Linked DNA regions of Homo sapiens: region 1 is linked to region 2. Evidence: promoter capture Hi-C in human tissues and cell types (Jung and others, 2019). All regions are on one chromosome and are shown on one strand. Each heading gives the region's core, a stretch centred on a gene start or on the middle of the fragment in contact. The rest is flanking DNA. Distances are from core to core; before and after follow the strand shown.

What was found. Contacts are between HindIII fragments. The study calls those that stand out against the background at their distance.
Region 1: a contact is called between a fragment that was not itself captured here and the fragment with the promoter of HSD11B1L in region 2, in 1 of the 25 tissues and cell types used here (dorsolateral prefrontal cortex).

Annotation. Positions count from the first base shown.
Region 1 is chr19:5,050,171-5,052,870 of GRCh38, reverse strand. All of the region lies in intron 6 of KDM4B (lysine demethylase 4B), which reads right to left. Among named protein-coding and RNA genes, the nearest start is that of KDM4B, 82 kb to the right of the region's middle. RefSeq lists an enhancer at 368-867. The HindIII fragment of the contact is 6,767 bases long and covers 1-2,700 here.
Region 2 is chr19:5,679,668-5,682,367 of GRCh38, reverse strand. HSD11B1L (hydroxysteroid 11-beta dehydrogenase 1 like) reads right to left here and starts at 1,341. Exons shown (of 8, transcript NM_198706.3): 1 at 1,097-1,341. MICOS13 (mitochondrial contact site and cristae organizing system subunit 13) reads left to right here and starts at 1,852. Exons shown (of 4, transcript NM_205767.3): 1 at 1,852-1,910; 2 at 2,605-2,700. The coding sequence starts at 1,882. RefSeq lists a silencer at 1,164-1,373 and enhancers at 1,424-1,893, 1,904-2,003, 2,024-2,103, 2,134-2,243, 2,624-2,700. The HindIII fragment of the contact is 40,206 bases long and covers 1-2,700 here.

The DNA of each region.
Region 1 (2,700 bases), core at 32-2,531, 630 kb after region 2:
CAGAAGCTGGAAGTCCCAGTGGTTGGCTCGCCAGCAGCAGCAGTACAAACCCACACCAGGGTCCCCGGGCGCCAGCGCGCTACCCCATGGGCCTTCAGGCTGCTGCCTGGGACGGGCTCGCCAGCTCCATCACCCACCAGACTCCTGGGTCCCACTCCAAGGGACAGGGCAGAGGCCATTGTGGGGCCCGACAGTGCCACCTGCAGCCAGACTGAGGGAGCCCAGGAGGGAGGGAGGTGTCTGCCCCCAGGCAGGAGCTGCCAGCAGGAGATGGAGCTGGGAGGCGGGTGGGCCAGGGAGGTCCTGAGGGGCAGTTAGGCGGGCAGCAGAGGGGTAAGGGAGCAGGCCCGCAGCCTCCACCCCAAGAACAGCCTGGCTTGGCCTGGGTGGGCGACAGACTCATCCACCCCAGGCTCTGCCTTCCACCCACCTGCGGCCACAGGGCAGGAAGCCCGGGCTGGTCCCCTGCAGCCCTGGAACCCACCCTCCCCACCCCCACCCTCCCCACCCCCACCCCCAGTGTCTGGAGCACGGTTCCTCGGTGCACACATGCGCCCATGCACACACACACATGCACGCACACCTCCAGGGACACCCATGAAGCAAAAGACGGCTATGCCTGCTAGGACTCAAGTTTCCCTGGCAGCAAGAAGAAAAGATGCTGTGAAATTCCCATGAGGGAAAACGCCAGAGAGAAAACTCAAGGTGTAGCTGAATCAAAAGGGAAAATTCTCGGCTTGCAGCTCCTTAAAGGTCAAGGGAGGCTGGTGGAGTCTTCTGATAATCCCCTCTCCCCTGGCCTCCCCAGCAGCCCTCCCCGCAGCACTCAGGAGGGTCTGGCTCATAGCAGCCCAGGATGGCCAAGAGCAACTGGGGGCTCCGTGCCCTTCACGGGAGCACAAGCTCCGAGACCCCCACCTCCCACACCTGCACCGGAGACTGAGTGTGTCCAAGGTAAACAGAGGCAGGAGAGGGTGGGCGGAGCGATCCCCTGAGGAAACAGCCAGAGATGAGACCATGGGGGACCCCCATCCTGCCTGGGGCAATGGGGGATTTCCAGACTGCCGCGGGTCATGGGCAGGTCAAGGTCGCAGTCCGGGCAAGCGCTCCTTCGCCCCGCTGCTCTTGGGGGCTTCACCTGGGTGCAGGATGACCCCCCTTCTGACAAGCGGAGCTGCAGAGACCCTGGGGGACACCCCCTTCCCTAAGCCTGAGCAGAGGCCTCTGTGGCTGCCACGCACCTGCGCTGGCCCCGCGGCACTCCTCAGGAGGGCCTTCCTCTCGCCGCCTTGGAGCCAGTGCAAGCAGCTGACCATGTCCCATCAGCTCACGACGTCCTCGGGAGTCCCTGCAGCCCCAGGAACATGCTGATCCCCCATCTGGCTTCCCTGCTGCAGTGAGAGCCAAAGCTTCTGCTCTTGGCGGTGGCCCACAGTCCCCTAAACACCCCAACACTGCCCTGCAGGGTGTCTGATGGGTTGGGGGCAAAAGGGGACCCGAAGCCTCGGCCAGGTCCCAGCCCGGCACATGGGTGCACAGGACTGAACAGTGGGCACTTTCCCAGGCAGCGTGGGCCAGGGCCCTCGAGGGGGGATGGCCACTCCACTCTCTTCTTTGGGGTGCACAGCACAATCCGAATGACCCAGAAGTGCCCTGGGACCAGCAACTCTCTCAGGGCTGGCCGAGACCCAACATCCTCCCACCCCGGCCTGGAACTCTCTTCTAGGGGCATGTGGCATGTGATGCTGCTGGCGACACTGCGCTCAGCCTCGTGGCGACGCCTGTGTTTCGTGCCTGGCCCGGGCGGCTCAGGAGGGTGGGCCCTGCAGGGGCTGCCACAGGTGCAGGTTGGGGAGGGGATGCCTGGAGGGGAACAGCCGCAGGACCGGCCTTGGAGGGTCAGCTCGGCTAAACCACCCCCACCCCAGGTTCCAGGAGGGTCTTTTTATTTATTTATTTTTTATTTATTTTGAGACGGAGTCTCACTCTGTCGCCCAGGCTGGAGTGCAGGGGTGTGATCTCCGCTCACTGCAAGCTCCGCCTCCTGGGTTCACACCATTCTCCTGCCTCAGCCTCCCGAGTAGCTGGGATTATAGGCACCTGCCACCACACCCGGCTCATTTTTTGTATTTTTAGTAGAGACGGGGTTTCACCGTGTTAGCCAAGATGGTCTCGATTTCCTGACCTCATGATCCAACCGCCTCAGCCTCCCAAAGTGCTGGGATTACAGGCGCAAACCACCGCGCCTGGCCCCAGGAGAGTCTTGATCTATGGCAAGGAGTGTGGCCTGGGACAGTGGCTTCTATGGGGCACAGCCTTCAGGACACCGACCCCAGGCCACCACCCCACCCAGGAAGACCCTGGAATACAGGGTCAAGTGGAAAGCTCGGACCCTCCCCACACCCACCTGCACTCCGGCCCCCCCGGCCTGGGTGACAGAAGGGGCTGCGGGAAGTTGGCGGGGGGAAGTTGCAGGTGCTGGCTCTGGTTTCAATCCGCATTGCCAAAGAGATTTTGAGGCGCTCAGTCTCTTCAGATATTCTTAGCCCCGCTGCCTGAGAGCACCACAGAAGCCAGCCTTTTGAAGCATGTTTCTGCCTGTTATTGACACCAGGCTGTTCACGTCACTTTGACACACAAATCAAGCTACCAAAGTAGCAACAGACCCAGAAAGCTTTAATAAAATGCTGTAAACCTGAG
Region 2 (2,700 bases), core at 92-2,591:
CCCCATCTTTCCTTTGGCCTCCCTTCCATCTCCGATTTGGTCTCCCCCACCTCCACACTGGCTTCCCCATGTCCATACTCATTCTCTCCCTGCCTCTTCTGTCAATGCAGCCAAAGGCGTCTGTGTCAAAAGCAACATGGCCATGGCCCTTCCTGCTCCAAACCCTCTCAGGGGTCCCCACTGCAACTGATGGAAACCAGGCTCCTCACTGCACCCCATGAGGCCCTGCAGGTATAGCCCCTGACTACCTGTCTATCCTTCTCTCCCACGGCCCCATCTATGAATCGTTCAGTTCTCAAAATAATGAACTCCTCACCTTTCCCAGACACACCAGGCATGCCCACAGCAAGAAACGAGCTTCCACCTTTTCCCCTTCCAGGGACAGCCCATGAAGCTCCTCTGCTCATCCCTCTTTCCACCCCCAGCTCTACACTGACTGCAGCAGCCCGGCAGGGGGAAGTGGGACCAGATGGACTGACGGGTGGACGGATGGGTGGATGGATGAATGGATAGATGGACAGATGCATGTATGGATGCATAGATAGAAGGATGGATGGGTGGATGGCCAGATGAATAGATGGATGGGTGGATGGATGGATGATGGACGGAGAGATGTATGGGTGGATAGATGGATGAGTGGATGGATGTATGAATGGATAAATGGGAACACATAAATGGATGGATGGATGGATGGATGGATGGACGGACGGATGCATGGATGGATGGATGGATGGATGGATGGATGGACGGATAGATGAGTGGGTGGCCAGATAAATAGATGGATGGGTGGACAGATGGATGAGTGGAAGGATGGGGGGAGCAGATGGATGAATGGATGGGCGGACAGATGGATGAACGGAAGTGTGGATGGATAGATGGAAGGATAGATGGGTGGATGGCCAGATGGATAGACGGGTGGGGGACAGATGGATGGATGGGCAGATGAACGGTTGAAGCAGCCCGGCCGAAATGCGGGAGAAATGGGGGGAAGCCCTGCAGAACGCATCGGCCCCTTCTTGACCTCGGCGGGCCTTAGCTTCCCCTCTGAACAAAGCGGGCGTGTGACCCTCTGCGCACCCCTAAACCGTGCACTCACCCGCTCAGGCCTCAGTTTCCCCCACTGTCCAGCGGGGGTGGGGTCCCGGGCTGGGAGCCACGCGAACGCCCCCACGGTCCTCTCTTCTCGGCCGCCTCCTGCCGGGTCCCCGACCGCACCCCCTCCCGTAGGGCACGGGTCACGTGACTCGAAGCCCACCTCCTCCCGGGGAGGGGCCGGGCCTCGGGGACCCAGCGCCGGAGCGTCGCCGGGCAACAGTGCCCGCCTGGTCTTCGCCTCCCAGCAGGGGCCCGGCCCCGCCCACTGGGCGGACGCCCCGCCTCCGAATCGATCACGTGAGGGGGCCGCAGCGCTCGAACAATCCCGCCCTCTCGTTGCCGTGACAACCGCCTTGTAGGCACACTCTTCTTAAATCCGGGCCCTTGGTCCCCCGCGCGGGCGCGGGTGGATCTCTCGGGCTCTGACTTGTTTTCGGGTCACCTTCAGGCTTCAGCCAGGCACCTGACGCCTCTTTCCCCTCACGGTGCCAGGGCCGGGCCGAACTACATTTCCCAGGAGGCTCCGCGGCCAGGTGCAAACAGCGCCGTGCTGACTACATTTCCCAGACAGCCTTGCGGCGGCCCGGGCCTTAAAGCGTCCATTTCCCAGCGGCCCTCCGCTGCGAGACCGCAGCCCTTCTCTGGAGTCTCAGAGCCGCAAGACACCACGACTCCCAGAGGACCTTGCGTCGGGCAAGAAAGACTACACCTTCCAGAGGCCTCTGCGGCGCCGCGACAGGAAGCGGCGGGCGAGCCGAGTGTCCTTGCGCGTGGATCCGAGCGACCATGGTGGCCCGGGTGTGGTCGCTGATGAGGTGCGTGGGGGCGCCGGAGGGGACCCGAGTCCCCGAAAAAGTCCATTTTTGTGGGCATCCCTGTCTCCAGTCTGGTCCCGATCTGCTCTTCGCTTCCCTTAGAGTCACTTCCCCTTCGTTCCCCGCCTATGGGCCAGATAGGGAAACTGAGGCTTCAGAGGGGCGGGGCTTCCCGAGGTCGCCAATCCCCTCCCTCCTGCTTCCCAGCGAGCCCTTGGCGTTCAGTTCGCGGTGTCAGCCTCCGCCTCCGAGCCTCAGTTGTCTTCTCTGTGAGGTGGGAATGCCGGTGAATCCTGCCGCTGGCGTGGATGAGAAGTGAATGCGTGCTCGGAGCTGCGAGTGACAGCGGGCAGGAGGCGCCCAGGGACACTTGGTTTCTCCAGGGCTGGAAGGCTTCTAGAAGGTCAAGATCTTACGTCTTCACTGCCCCTGCTCACTGTGGGACTTTGAGTGACCCACTCTCCCCCTCTGGGTTTCAGTTCATCAGTTCAAGTGGCGTCCAGCCGCCCTGCCTTGCACGTTGTAAAACGAGTGCTGTATATAATAGGGGTCTGGGTCGACGGTGCTGCACTACAGAGTGTCACCCTGTGGACGGTGAGCCCTCAGGAGGGTCTCACTCTCCCCGTGGGCCTTGGCCCCTGAGGGTGGCTGTCAGTGTCCGCTGAGCTTCTGCTCCTCCCGTCCCTGCCCGCAGGTTCCTCATCAAGGGAAGTGTGGCTGGGGGCGCCGTCTACCTGGTGTACGACCAGGAGCTGCTGGGGCCCAGCGACAAGAGCCAGGCAGCCCTACA